Regions from separate parts of the Homo sapiens genome. Here regions 2, 3 and 4 are each linked to region 1. Evidence: promoter capture Hi-C in 16 types of primary human blood cells and fetal thymus (Javierre and others, 2016). All regions are on one chromosome and are shown on one strand. The core of a region is centred on a gene start or on the middle of the fragment in contact, and the rest is flanking DNA. Distances in the headings are between cores, read along the strand shown.

Region 1 (3,111 bases), core at 349-2,848:
TACCCAAACATGTCATTGTAGCAAAGAGTAACAGAGCAGCAGCGCTAGATTTATGTTTCTCTTTACCCAAACATCTCAGTGTAGGAAAGAGTAACAGAGCAGTATTGCTGCCAGCATTCTTGCTTCCAGGCAGTTTTCTCCTATCTCAGAATAGAACAAAAGGGAATGGTTGGCTTTACAATGAGACATTCCATTCCCAAAGACGAGCAGGAGACAGAAGGCTTCCTCTTATCTCAACTGCAAAGAGGCCTCCCTCTTTACGACTCCTCAGCACAGACCCTTTATAGGTGTTGGGCTGGGGGACGGTAAGGTCTTTCCTTTCCCATGAGGCCATATCTCAGGCTGTCTCAGTGGGGGGAAACCTTGGACAATTCCCAGGCTTTCTTGGGCAGAGGTCCCTGCGGCTTCCCGCAGTGCATTGTGTCCCTGGTTAATCGAGAATGAAGAATGGCGATAACTTTTACCAAGCATACTGCCTACAAACATATTAACAAGGCACATCCTGCATAGCCCTAAATCCATTAAACTTTGATTCATTACAGCACATGTTTCTGTGAGCACAGGGTTGGGGCTAAAGTTACAGGTTAACAGCATCTCAAAGCAAAAACAATTTTTCTTAGTACAGATCAAAATGGAGTTTCTTATGTCTTCCTTTTCTACATAGACACAGTAACAATCTGATCTCTCTCTCTTTCCCCCACAGTTTTTGTATTTTTAGTAGAGACTGGGTTTCACCATGTTGGCCAGGCTGGTCTCGAACTCCTGACCTCAGGTGATCCGCCCACCTCGGCCTTCCAAAGTGGGATTACAGGCGTGAGCCACCGCCTCCTATTGACTTTTAAAAGGCGGTTGAGTGTGGCTCAGGGGTCACACGCCTGAGCATCCAAGTGGCCCTTCCCCCACTGCCCAATGAGCAAGTAGATTTGGATGCAACAAAAACACATATTTCCACGCCATTTTCTTGGGCGTAACGATACTTTCTTGTTTTATTTCTCATGATTCCGTTTCTAGGTCCTAGGCCCGTGCCTGATCCAGGATCCAAGCTCCCGGAAGCTGGCACTGGGCCCGCCCTGGGTAGGCAGCAGTGAGCAAGGCGGGCGGACAGCGCTGGGCTCGCGGGGTCCTGCGTCCTCCGCGGGAGTGTTGGCGGCGGGGGTCGCTCTGCGCGGGGACACTGGGCAGAGGGGGCGTGCGGCCTCTCTAGGAAGCTTTCTCGGAGCCCCAGACACTGGCGAGGCGCCGCGCCCCCTCTTCTGGATTCCGGCGCGCCCCCTGAACCCGGGAGCTACGAGCGGAGTCGCTTCTCCCTGCAGCCGTCCTGGGTCTGGCGCGGACGCACCCCCCGGCCGACCCCGAGCCGCTGCAGCCGGCGCCCCTGCGGCTTCCAACCCGCGCTGCTCCGCCCGCAGCGGAGGCCCCGCACTTCGCGCGCTAGGGGTTTGGGTTCCGGACGCCCAGCCCGGAGCCGAGCCGCCAGCCGCCCGCATCCCGGGCCACTAGGGCCCGCTGTCGCCCCTGCAGCCACGCTCACGCGGCGGCGCTGCGCAGGCGCAGAAGCCCGGAACCTTCCCGCCCAGCTTCTGGGCCCGGCCGGACTGAGTTCGCTGCTGTCCCGGTTCCTCTCGAGTCGGCTCCAACTGCCAGGTGGGCGGCCGGGCGGGCGGCCGAGGCGGCAGCGCGAGGCCGGGGAGGGGCGCGGTGCGGGGCCGGGCTCCTGCGTGGGCGACCCCGCTCACCCTTCCTCTCCCGGCCTTGCGCAGCCCGGGTTGGCGCCATGTACGCCGTGTACAAACAGGCGCATCCGCCCACCGGTCTGGAGTTCTCCATGTACTGCAACTTCTTCAACAACAGCGAGCGCAACCTGGTAGTGGCCGGGACCTCGCAGCTCTACGTGTACCGCCTCAACCGCGACGCCGAGGTAGGTCGGGCCCTGGGAGCCCTCCCGGCTGTCCGCGACGTGGGTGCTCTCACCGCCCCCGGTTGCAGATGGAAGAGCCAAGCCCCAGACAAGTTGAGTGATTTGCTTAACGTTCCTCAGCCTGAGGAGCCAGGACATGACCCTGAATCTCTTGTGCTCAGATCCTTTCTCACAGCTGCTACCCTGTTCTGCCTCCCTTCCTACCCCACCGGGAAGGGCGCGCTGCCCTAGCCGTCTTGTTTGCTCTTCCGTTTTTTCAGCAAGTTGTTCGGAAGGAGCGAACGCCCACTGTGCGCTGGGTAGCAGAGATACCATGTGAACCACACCTGCAGACACTTGGGGAAGGGGAACATCTAAATAAACACACCTGCCCCTGCAGCAAGTGCTGCTGCGGGAATAAAGGAGTGAAGGAAGGAGACTGTGTATTTCCAGTCGCATGATCAGAAGAGCCTGTCTGAGGCAGAGCGGGAGTTTGTCGGGGGAAGGACATTGGTAGCACAAGGAACAAGGCCAGGTCTAGGATGGGGACAGACTGTTGACAGGAGTCTTGGTACAGTGGGGCACACGCCTCAAGGGTTTGGGAAATACAGTGGTGTTTTGGTTGCCGGAGGGTTGAAAGCTGGTCCAGGAAAGCAACTTGCAAGAGGCAGTTTCTCCATTGCTCTTGAAGGGAGGAGTACCTCTTACCCAGGCCCAGGGATGGTGAGAGGAGGGTGTTCCAGGCAGAAGAAACAGCCTGTGCACAGGCCCAAAGCAGTTGAGGGTGGAGAGACATGCACAGTGTGGCCGTGGTATAGACTGGATGTGGTGGTGGGGATGGAGGGAGGTAGGCCGTGGTCAGGACTATTCTCCACAAAGCAGGGAGGAGCCACAAGAGGGTTGTGAATAGGGGCTGACCCAGCAGGCAGATGGGTCAGAAGCTCAGGCCAAAGGAGGCCAACCCTCCTGGGCACCTACCCCGGCATACATATGTATTTGCTGGCCAGGGCTCCTGTCCTCTGAAGGCTTGACGAGGGCTGGAGTTTCTGCTCCTAACACACTATTGGCAGGAGGCCGCAGTTCCTCACCACATGGGCCCCTCCCTGGGGCAGCTCACAACATGGCAGCCTCCCTCACAATGAGACACCCACCAAGACTGAAGCCACGGCGAGTCCTGTAACCGAATCTCAGGCTGGGTGCACTGGCTCACACCT
Region 2 (3,111 bases), core at 423-2,922, 470 kb after region 1:
TGGCTGTTCCGGGATCTCACACTGTGCCTCAGCAGAGTGGCAGCCCCGTTCCTGCAGGCAGGAGCCACCTGGTCACGGCCGGGCCCCCAGAGCCCATACCCAGCAGGCGCGGGGCTTGGCCTCAGGGTAGCTGCTGGCCCAGGGCTTCTGAAGAGGCGACAGTGTTTCCAGAGGCTTTGGACCCAGGGAGGGGCGGCAGAGGTGTGGGGTCCGGGGTGCCCTTGGGCACAAGACTGGAGGTGCTGACCAGTGCGGGGTCAGATTTTGATTTGGGGGCTTCTGGTGACTCCTGAGGTTCTGGAGGCTGCTGGGCCGGACAGGCAGAGCAAGAGGGTCACCCTGAATCTCATGCCAGGCTCAGAGACCATGCATGGAGACCAAGGGGTGTCTTCGTTGGGCGGCGTGTACGATGTGGCAGAGCCCTAGGGGCTGGCTGTGCCCCTTGGCGTGGAGTGGGGGCTTCCCCACCTCTGAGGGGTTTGGGCACCCCCCATTGTGAGGGTTCTGGTGCCCCCTCACGGCCTCAGGGGCAGTAGGAATGAGGTGGGGTGAGCTCTTCCCAGAACTGAGGCCGAGTGCAGCTCCCAGCTGGACCGAATCTGCCTGATGTGCGGCTGGAACATTCTTGTGGTTGGGGCAGCGCATTCTTTCCTATGGTGGTCGGGTGGGCTGGGCAGGCCCAGAAGCTGGCCAGAGGCAGCTCCGCCCCGGACCCCAGGGAGCCGGAGGCCCCAGCCAGCGCAGGCCCTTTGCCCTTTGCCCTTTACAGCATGAGACTGCTTCCCTTGAGCCCCACCCAGCTGCAAACAGCACCCCCCACCCCTGGGGTCGCCCAGGTCCTGCCTCAGGTGTGGCTTCCCCTCTGTGAGTCACAGGCTTGGGCCCCCTCCCCATCCCTGACTCACTGGCGAGGCCCCTCCTGGGGCTTCCCGATGCTCCATTCCCCCATGAGGCCCGGCCTCCGTGAGTCAGCCCTCAGCTACGCGCCTCCGACGTGAGGTGTCTGCCTGGGGCAGGGTGGGCTCCGCAGGTGGGCACTGCTCCAGGATGTGCCAGGTGGGCAGCTTGGGAGGGGCCAGGCCTGGGGTGGGACCCCACTGGCCCCAGGGCCAGGGCAGGCACCATGGGGCAGGGTGTGCTCCCCGCTTCATGCAGGTCTGTGAAGAGGTGTGATTGGGGGGCTGCAAGAGCTGACAGGCAGCAGGTCCCCTCCCCTCGCCAGGTATCAGCGGCTTCTTGAGTCCGCCCTGGCAGGGTGGGTGGGCAGAGGCTGAAGCAGGGCCTGGCCCAGGCCTGGAGGGAGCTCCAAAGAGAGGCGTGGCCTCAGAGCCCCTCCCGTCGGGGGAGCCCTTCAGTCTGTTGGGGGGTCCTTCTGGGTGGCTGTGGGGACGGCCTGTGTTCCTCTGCGGTCCTGGCACCATTTGGTGTGCAGTGAAGTGCCAGCTCCCCGTGTCCCCAGGTCCCCCTAGGGGGCTGCAGTGGTCGGGGTGGGTGAGGAAACCCCGGTTTCCTGTTTCTGGCGGGCCGAGGGCGTGTCTGTGGGGGAGGGGGCTGCTTGCTCCTTCCCGCCGGGACACTCCCCTCCCTGGCGGCGGCCTGGGCAGGGTGGGGCCTCGGGGGCGGGCCGGCCTCGCCGGGGAGTACAGCAGGCAGGGAGTGGCCGCACCGACTGGGGCTCTGAGCTGAGCCTGTGCCGAGTGAGCGTCTCGTGGGGCCGCCAGCCTTCAGCTGCCTGTGTGCCACACGGGGCTGCCCAGAGCACCGTGCCTGAGGCCGAGGGTCCGGGCGACGAAGGTGTGGGGGCAGCATGTCTCAGCACCAGCTCCGCGTGCCGCAGCCCGAGGGCCTGGGCCGAAAGAGAACCAGCTCGGAGGACAACCTGTACCTGGCTGTGCTCAGGGCCTCTGAGGGCAAGAAAGGTAGCAGGGCTCCCCTCGGGCACCCCCGCCAGGCAGGGCGGGCCCCTGCGGGAGGAAGGCCCACTTCCTGTGGCAGGAAAGCCTTGGCACCGCTGGGGGGCTGGTCTTGGAGATGGGGGTCGGGGGCCAGCCATCCCCACCCAACACGGAGTGGGCCGACAGGCGCCCGCGAGGCTGACGGGGGCCTCCGAGCGTCAGATGTCGGGCCTGGAAGGGCGAGGAACTCTGCGCTCTGGGGAAGGTTCGCTGCCCTGTCAGCAGCACACGCGGCTTCCCTTCCAACACCCCAGCGGGCCCGGGCCCTGGCTCTGCCACACCCCTGCTTGGGTCTCAGTCTGTAGAGGCCGGGGGGGACTGCAGGACGGGACTTGTGTGCCCTGGGCTCAGGGTGCGCCCAGGACCCTCCCATTTCCTCGGGGGAAGAGTCCGGGGTGGGGTGGCTGCACCTGGTGGCGCCTGGGCCCCTGGCACCTGGGTCTCTGCTGTGTGGCTGGGCTGCGGGTGAGGGCGCCTGGGTCTCAGTGTGTGATCTGAGGGAGGCTTTGGGGCTCCCCAGGCAGGACCTGGCCAGCCAGGCTGCTGTGTCTGCACGGTGGTCACCTGAGGGCCCCCGGGGCTTCTCCCAGGCCCCAGGTAAGCTGGTCTTGTCTCCCCCAGATGAGCGGGATCGTGTGCAGAAGAAAACCTTCACCAAGTGGGTCAACAAGCACCTCATCAAGGTTGGTGGCGCATGCTGGTGCGTGTCACAGGGGCTGAGGCTGTGGGAGGCGCTGAGGGAGGGTGGCCCCTGCCGCCCAAGGCTGTCCCCATGCTGCCTGTGTGCTCACCTTTCATCTCTGAAACCTGTTATTTTCTGTCCTCTTTCTTCCCTACGCCTGCTCCTGCCTCTCTCTTCCTCCTCTTCCTTCTGGTCTTTCCTGGTCTCTCCTTGCAGCACTGGCGGGCAGAGGTAGGTGCCTCCGTGGGGCAGGGTGTGTTCCGTGGGCTCCCGGGAGACTCAGCCCCCGCCTCCTTCCCTCTGGGACCAGCACCCACTCTGTAGATCAGCCACTCAGGGCCTATTGGTGGCTCTGGGGGACTGGCCACCTCAGCCGCTGCTGTCCCCACAGGCCCAGAGGCACATCAGTGACCTGTATGAAGACCTCCGCGATGGCCACAACCTCATCTCCCTGCTGGAGGTCCTCTCGGGGGA
Region 3 (3,111 bases), core at 339-2,838, 420 kb before region 1:
GCAGGAGGTGGGCCTTCACAGGACATGCGAGGGGAAGGAGGCAGTCAAGCTTCCTACCATGAGGCTCAGTGGTGGGTGGGCATCCACGTGTTCTGGCCGAGAGACCTGTTGGCAATTATGAAAGGATTAGAGGTCAAGGTGCCAGAAGCCCAACTTCCAGGCTAATCAAGGGGGTACTGTGCTCTCTGCTCCTTTACCTCCAGCCCCAGATTTCTCTAGCAGGGACATGGGGCTGGGCTGAAGCAGCCATGGCACTTGAGTGAAGGAGGCCCACTGAACTCTTGTTCCTCTTTAGAGTGTATGTGTGTGTGGCATGTGTGACTCACTCCACAAAGCCGTAAGAAGTGGATGCCACGTGCCAGGCACTGAGTAATGGGGATACAGTAGTGGACACGAGGACCCTGCCTTCACGAAGCAGTCTGGCGGAGGAAAGAGTTAAATAACCACACAAATAAGCACACTGCAACCACGACAGCGCTCAAGTACAGGGAACTATGAAAGCCACTTAGACTAGAACGTTCAGTGTAATGGGTCACTTCCCCAGGGACCTCGGCCAAGGTAATGGAGGTGGAGAGAGCACTCCAGGCAGCAGGAATAGCATGTGAAAGGGCCTGAAGCAAGAAGAAATGGGGTTGGATGAACCAGTGTGGGTAAATTCCCGGCAGCAAGGGAAGGCAGTGAGCGACTGGAGGTTGGGGAAGGCAGTGAGCGACTGGAGGTTGGAGAAGGCAGGAGCAAAAATGACAAACTGTAGGGAAGACAAGAGTGGACATGGAAACCCCTGCCCTCAAGTACATAAATTCCAGTCTCCAGCTCACCTGTCGCCAGGATGGAACCAGGCACAGGGATGTAATCTGATATAAATCGTTCACCTCAATTAAGCCAATGACCCCAGACCCTCTACCTGCCCAGGCATTCCCCCGGGAGGTCGGAATGGGAAAAAGAGTCTTCGTATGGCAGCTTCTGGCCCAGAAAGTGGTTTGTGGGTGGAAGCCCCAGGTCACCGGCACAGGTAGGCTGATCCCCCCACCTGGCTCCTGACAGTAGGAATGCCCGGAATAGCAACCAGAATTTAGAGAAGACAAACAGCCTACCCCACCCAAGGCACCGTTCCTTCCTCCACTGTCACTTATCCTAGGCCTTCCGGGGCAATAAATAGAAAGAGAAAAGGCTCTAGAAGGAGGTGATTTCGCAGGAGGAGTCAGGGCCCCGGGAGTAGACCCAGGCCTGAAGAAAAGGCCGCAGCTGGAGCTCGCCTTACTCAGGCCCCGGACACCGTGGCCGCCACGAGCGGGGTCTGCGGGGAGCTGCGAGACTCGGCCAAACGAAGCCCACCTCGCGCCGCCGCGGGGGAGGGTGGCTGGGCTCGACCACCTCCCACACCAGGCGCTCAAGGCCCCGCAAAGCCCCCGCGCTTTCCCGCCTGGAGGCCCGGGGGACGCGGGGACCCCAATGCCGAAGGCGGGAGGGCTAAGGAAGCGACCAGGGATCACTCGGACCGAGGGCAACCCGAGTCCGCGCCCGCCGCGCCGACTCACCCTCCCTGAGGACCACCCGAGGCTCGCAAACGCGCGACGCCGCCGGAAACGGGCCTTGGCCACCCGCGTCCGCCCCGCCCCGCAAACTTCCGGCCGCCCTGGGCCGCTCGGAGGCCCGGCCATCTCTGTGGTTCTCAGCCCCGCCTCCCAGGCTCCGGAGAAGGGGTGGAGTCAGAGCCGAGGAGGGGCGAGGCTGGGGCCCGAGGGACAAGAACCTGGGCGGGACCAGAAGCCCAGATAGGCGGGGCTGGCGCCTGGGGGCGGGGTACAGTCAGAGGCGGGCAGGGGGCGGAGCCGCGAGGGAGAGGAGGGCCCAGAGCCCGGAGTGGGCGGTGCCTGAGCAGGGGCGGGGCGGGGCCGGGGCCTGGAGCTGGGGACGCGGGCCGGGGCCGGGAGTTGCGGACTCGCTGGCGGGTGGGAGGAGCGGAGTCGGGGCGAGGCTGGCGGAGATCCAGGGGATCGCCCGGTTGGGCCCTGCGCACCCCGGATCACCAGCTTCGGGCGCTGGTTCCCACCGAGGCTGTTCAGGCGCCGCTCCCCCGCGTCCCTGCGACAGGAGGCGCCTGCTGGGCGCGCTATGGACCCCGCCTCGCGGAGACGCCTGGCTCGGGCCTTGTCCCCAGTGAGCGGCTGGAGCGGCCGCGGGGTCGCAGAGCCTCCGGGACCCCGAGGAAGGGCGCCCCTCGGAGTTGCCCGAGGCCGGGCCCGGCGTCCACTCGCCACTCGCCTCGCCCCTCCCCGGCCCCGCACCGCCCTCCACCCCGCCTCCTTCGGGTTCCTTCTGCGTCCGGCAGAGCCTGCGCGCCTCCCCCGGACGGCCACGGACTCGCAGCCTCGGCGAGGACGCTGCCTGCGTCCCGACTGCCTGGACCTCCCCGCGTGGCTCCCGGCGAAGCCCAGCAGCCGGAGGGTGCCAGGTCCGCCTGACGCGCCCCTCCCCACGGGAAGAACGGGGCGGGGGTCCAGGAGGGACGTAAGCCGGGCTCCCCCGGCGTGTTGATCCGAACCCGCGCGGGAAAACTTGCGCAAACCAAAGGAGGGAAGAGTCAGGCAGCCCCCAGCCCCCCAGGGAGGCCCAGGTGAAAAACAGACGCCGGCCTCGCCTCTCCCGGTGCGGATGATCCCGGCACTCCCACCCCCGCCCCTGCTGCCCCGAGTTCGGCTCCCTCAGCCCCACATCCTCTCTGGTCATCTAAGTGGACTGCAGCTGCTCAGGGAGCATGTCGCGAAGGATAGGGAAGGACAGGGGGTCTGCTTCCCCAGCCGCCCTCCAGACCCCCAGGGCTGGTAGGGGCCGGCAACCCTATGCCCCAACCTGGCCTGCTGCAGGTGAGGGGGGCACACCAGGGTAACACAGGAGCAGGAGGGGGAGAAAGCCTGGCTAGAGCATCCACCTCATAGGCACCTTCCTTGTGTCCAGGGTGCAGATGCCAGGGCTCTGAGGCCCTGAGGTCCTGTCTGGGGCGAGGGGGCTTCCTCCATCCACTGCATCCACTGCCCGGCTGAGTCTAGAGGCCACTGAGCAAGCAGACCCTCCAAAGCCAGGCACACTCAGGCCCTCACATGGTCACGG
Region 4 (3,111 bases), core at 67-2,566, 330 kb after region 1:
CACTAGGGCCCTGTCCGGCAGGGCTCGAGCCCGGGAGCCCCGGATCTGGAAGAGGACAGACACATGAGCCAGGCCCACTCCTTCCAGCTCACACTCCACTGTCCTCTGTGGGTCTGCCTCTCCCTCCACTTTCAATGCCTCAGCAAGGGGCAACTGCGTTACCTCCAAAACAAAGCCCCCTGTTTTGCGCTCTCTGTCTTGCATGTGTCGCCCTCTGGCACCTTTTAATTGGCTTCCTTGTGTCCATCCTTGCCCCATTCCCTGCCAACCCAAGTTTACAAACATCAACGCTGCTTCTGTCTCACCTACACACTCAAATCCTAACTACCTTACAAAGGTTTCACATTACATATGAAATAAGATCCCAAATCATTTCCCTACTCTACAAAACCCTAAGTCCTCACCTCCCCGGGAACCCTCAACCTGATTTGGAGTTATCCCCTCTTTCCCCACCAGCAGTCTTTCTGCTCTGCATAAGTGCCTTGCTTGTTTTCACCACCGTGGTCTTCGCCCTTCTGGTTCCCTCCGCCTGGAAAGCAGAGCTCCCACACTCATGCGCTAAGCAAACACTCTTTCAATACCTTCGCTGGCCAGGCAGTTACAGCGCTGGAAGCACAGTAATGAAACCAGATAGTTTTATGTAAAGTTCCTTTCTTTAGGAAGCTTATGTTCCAGCGAGGAAACAAAGGGGAAAATGCTTAAGCAAAATAGGCATTTGAGATTGTAGGTGCACAAAACAAAGGGTTTATTGTAGGGCGAGAAGTACCGCGTGGATAATAAGGTCGTCTGGGAAGGAGTGACGTCGGAGTAGAGCTGAAAGGAGAGGGAGCGAGTGGGGGAGTGCCTAGCACGTTGAAGAGCCGCAAAGAGGAAGGAGGGCGCAGGGACAGAGGCCGATGAGAAAGGCAGGACCACCGCGCAGCACACTAAGGACTTGCGTTTACTCCGAGTGAGATGCGGTGCTGAGCATCGGCTGTGTAGACTGAGGCGCGCCGGCCGTTGCCCCTCAAGTCCCCGAGCCAGCGCTCAGCCCGGCTGCCCCGCAGCTCCCACGGCCACACGATTCCCCATCCCGCGCGCCCACTCGCCTCGTGCGGGCCGTAGACCACAGCCAGTGCCTTGGTGTTGCCCTGCTCAATGTAGGCCGAGCCGTCAGCCTGCGCGAACACGCCCATCCGCGCCTGGATCTTGCGCAGCTCCCCGGCGCGCCGCCCGTCCACCCGGTAGCCCTGGTCCGACAAGAGCTCCAGCCCCGCCATGCTGCCCGGCCGCCAGGTCCGCTCTCTGCCTACTTCTCTGAGCCGCGGGAGAACTACAGCTCCCGGCGGCTCCGACCGCCCGGAATCTACGGTTTCCGGAGGTCCGCCATCACTTCCGGTTCCGGGGAACTACAGCTCTCCGCGGCCCTGACCTCCGTGGATCTGCGGTTTCCGGCGTTCCGCTGTCACTTCCTGTCCTGGTGAACTGGAGTTCACCGCGGCCCCGACCTCCCCGGATCTACGGTTTCCGGCGGTCCGGCTCTACTTCTGTCTCCGGGGAACTGCGGCGGCGCTATCGGGGAAGCAGCGGCTGGGCCCGCAGCCGTTCCCGGAGCTGTGCCACGGGTGCCAGGAGGTGGGCGCCCGCCGAAGGAGGAATTGCCCAGTCACGCCCTCGTGACCAGTGGTGCCTGCATTCAGCCCTTCCCCGCGCCCCAAGTGTGAAAGTGGAAGGATGAACCCAGTGGGGTGCGACACTGACAGGAGAAGGCATTGAGCGGTCCTAGGAAAGTGACCAGGCTGGTGTCCCAGGATGGTCCACACCTGGCACCTCTCCAGTCCTCTCATGCCCTCCCTTTACACCGAGCTTCCACACTGCAGTCAGGTGGGCCTCCCTTTTCCCTTTGAGGATGCAGATTTCCTCATCCTTTCCAGAGAGGGGTTGTATGTCTGTTTATCTCTTGCCACTTAACCTCAGCGGCTTCAAATAATAAAAATCATTCTATTATTATGTGCTGCAATCTGGGGTTATCTAGGCTCAGCTAGATAGTTTGCACTTAGGATCTCTCCTACAGTTGCTGCCAGATGGTAGCTGGGGCTGCAGCCATCCTAAAGCTTTCTCCCTCACATCTTTGGTGGCTGATGCTGGTGGCGGGCCAGGACCTCATCTGTGCCTGTCAGGCAGCACACCTACATGTGGCTTCTCCATGCAACCAGGGCTTCCTTGCAGTATGGCAACTGGGTTCCAAGGGTAGCCTTCCAGGACAACAAGGTGGACAACATGTGCATGGTATTTTTAGGACCTAACCTCAGAAGTCACATAGTGTCCCTCCTGCCACACTCTGTGGGTCAAGGCAGTCAGACAGATCTGCCCAGGCTTAAGGGATGAGGACAGGGACCCCACCCTTCAGTGGGAGGAGTGTCAATATTAGACTGTAGGAAGAGCAGGCGGGCTAGGGAAATGTGGTCTGCTGCAGGGGCCCAAGTTCAGTTGTCACAGCATCCCCTCCAAGGTGGTTAAGCTCTCCTGAAAGACTGAGGCATGAGAGTGAGTGAGCAAGCCACAACCCTGCTGCTGCAGCTGGTCTGAGGCCATGATGGGTCACCACCCTCTGCCACTTGCCACCCCGGATTCCCCACCCTCTGCTCTACAGCCACTCTGCTTATTGTGGAGCCCTTTTCCCCTTTCAGTCTGAGCTCTTACTGTCCCTGTTCTTACTGAGTCATCGTTTTTTTCGTTTGTTTCTTTGTTTTGTTTTGTTTTTTGAGATGGAGTCTTACTCTGCACCCAGGCTAGAGTGCCGTGGCACAATGTCAGCGCACTGCACCCTCCACCTCCAGGGTTCAAGTGATTCTTCTATCTCAGCCTCCCAAGTAGCTGGGAAGGTGGGATTACAGGCACCTGCCACTATGCCTGGCTAAGGTTTTTTTTTTTTTTTTGGAGATGGAGTCTCACTGTCACCCAGGCTGGAGTGCAGTGGCACAATCTCAGCTCACTGCAACCTCCACCTCCTGGGTTCAAACGATTCTCCTACCTCAGCCTCCCAGGTAGCTGGGATTACAGGCATGCACCACCATGCCCTGCTAACTTTTTTTTTGTAGTTTTAGTAGAGATGGGGTTTCACCATGTTGA

What was found. The method cuts DNA at HindIII sites, captures the fragments that hold promoters and counts their contacts. A CHiCAGO score of 5 or more calls a contact.
Region 2: a contact is called between the fragment with the promoter of PLEC here and the fragment with the promoter of CPSF1 in region 1, in 1 of 17 cell types (neutrophils). The highest score is 6.3, in neutrophils.
Region 3: the fragment with the promoter of ZNF7 here is called in contact with the fragment with the promoter of CPSF1 in region 1 in 2 of 17 cell types (neutrophils and total B cells); the score reaches 7.5 in neutrophils.
Region 4: a contact is called between the fragment with the promoter of EXOSC4 here and the fragment with the promoter of CPSF1 in region 1, in 1 of 17 cell types (neutrophils). The highest score is 7.0, in neutrophils.

What each region holds. Positions count from the first base shown.
Region 1 is chr8:144,407,822-144,410,932 of GRCh38, reverse strand. It overlaps CPSF1 (cleavage and polyadenylation specific factor 1), which reads left to right and starts at 1,598. Exons shown (of 38, transcript NM_013291.3): 1 at 1,598-1,644; 2 at 1,761-1,918. The coding sequence starts at 1,775. RefSeq lists a silencer at 1,132-1,791 and an enhancer at 2,062-2,111. The HindIII fragment of the contact is 8,279 bases long and covers 1,211-3,111 here.
Region 2 is chr8:143,938,158-143,941,268 of GRCh38, reverse strand. PLEC (plectin) reads left to right here and starts at 1,672. Exons shown (of 32, transcript NM_201384.3): 1 at 1,672-1,919; 2 at 2,577-2,638; 3 at 3,029-3,111. The coding sequence starts at 1,808. RefSeq lists enhancers at 754-1,048, 1,226-1,285, 1,696-1,935 and silencers at 1,446-1,675, 1,956-2,055. The HindIII fragment of the contact is 38,856 bases long and covers 1-3,111 here.
Region 3 is chr8:144,826,037-144,829,147 of GRCh38, reverse strand. It overlaps ZNF7 (zinc finger protein 7), which reads right to left and starts at 1,588. Exons shown (of 5, transcript NM_003416.4): 1 at 1,539-1,588; 2 at 58-105. The coding sequence starts at 60. LOC100130027 (a long non-coding RNA gene) reads left to right here and starts at 2,108. Exons shown (of 5, transcript NR_147501.1): 1 at 2,108-3,111. RefSeq lists enhancers at 359-884, 885-1,410, 1,411-1,936 and a silencer at 1,268-2,397. The HindIII fragment of the contact is 9,547 bases long and covers 52-3,111 here.
Region 4 is chr8:144,076,877-144,079,987 of GRCh38, reverse strand. It overlaps EXOSC4 (exosome component 4), which reads right to left and starts at 1,316. Exons shown (of 3, transcript NM_019037.3): 1 at 1,089-1,316; 2 at 1-45. The coding sequence starts at 1,259. It overlaps MIR6847 (microRNA 6847), which reads right to left and starts at 114; the gene lies at 46-114. LOC124902038 (a long non-coding RNA gene) reads left to right here. Exons shown (of 2, transcript XR_007061141.1): 2 at 1-1,989. RefSeq lists enhancers at 1,245-1,544, 1,555-1,604. The HindIII fragment of the contact is 1,430 bases long and covers 666-2,095 here.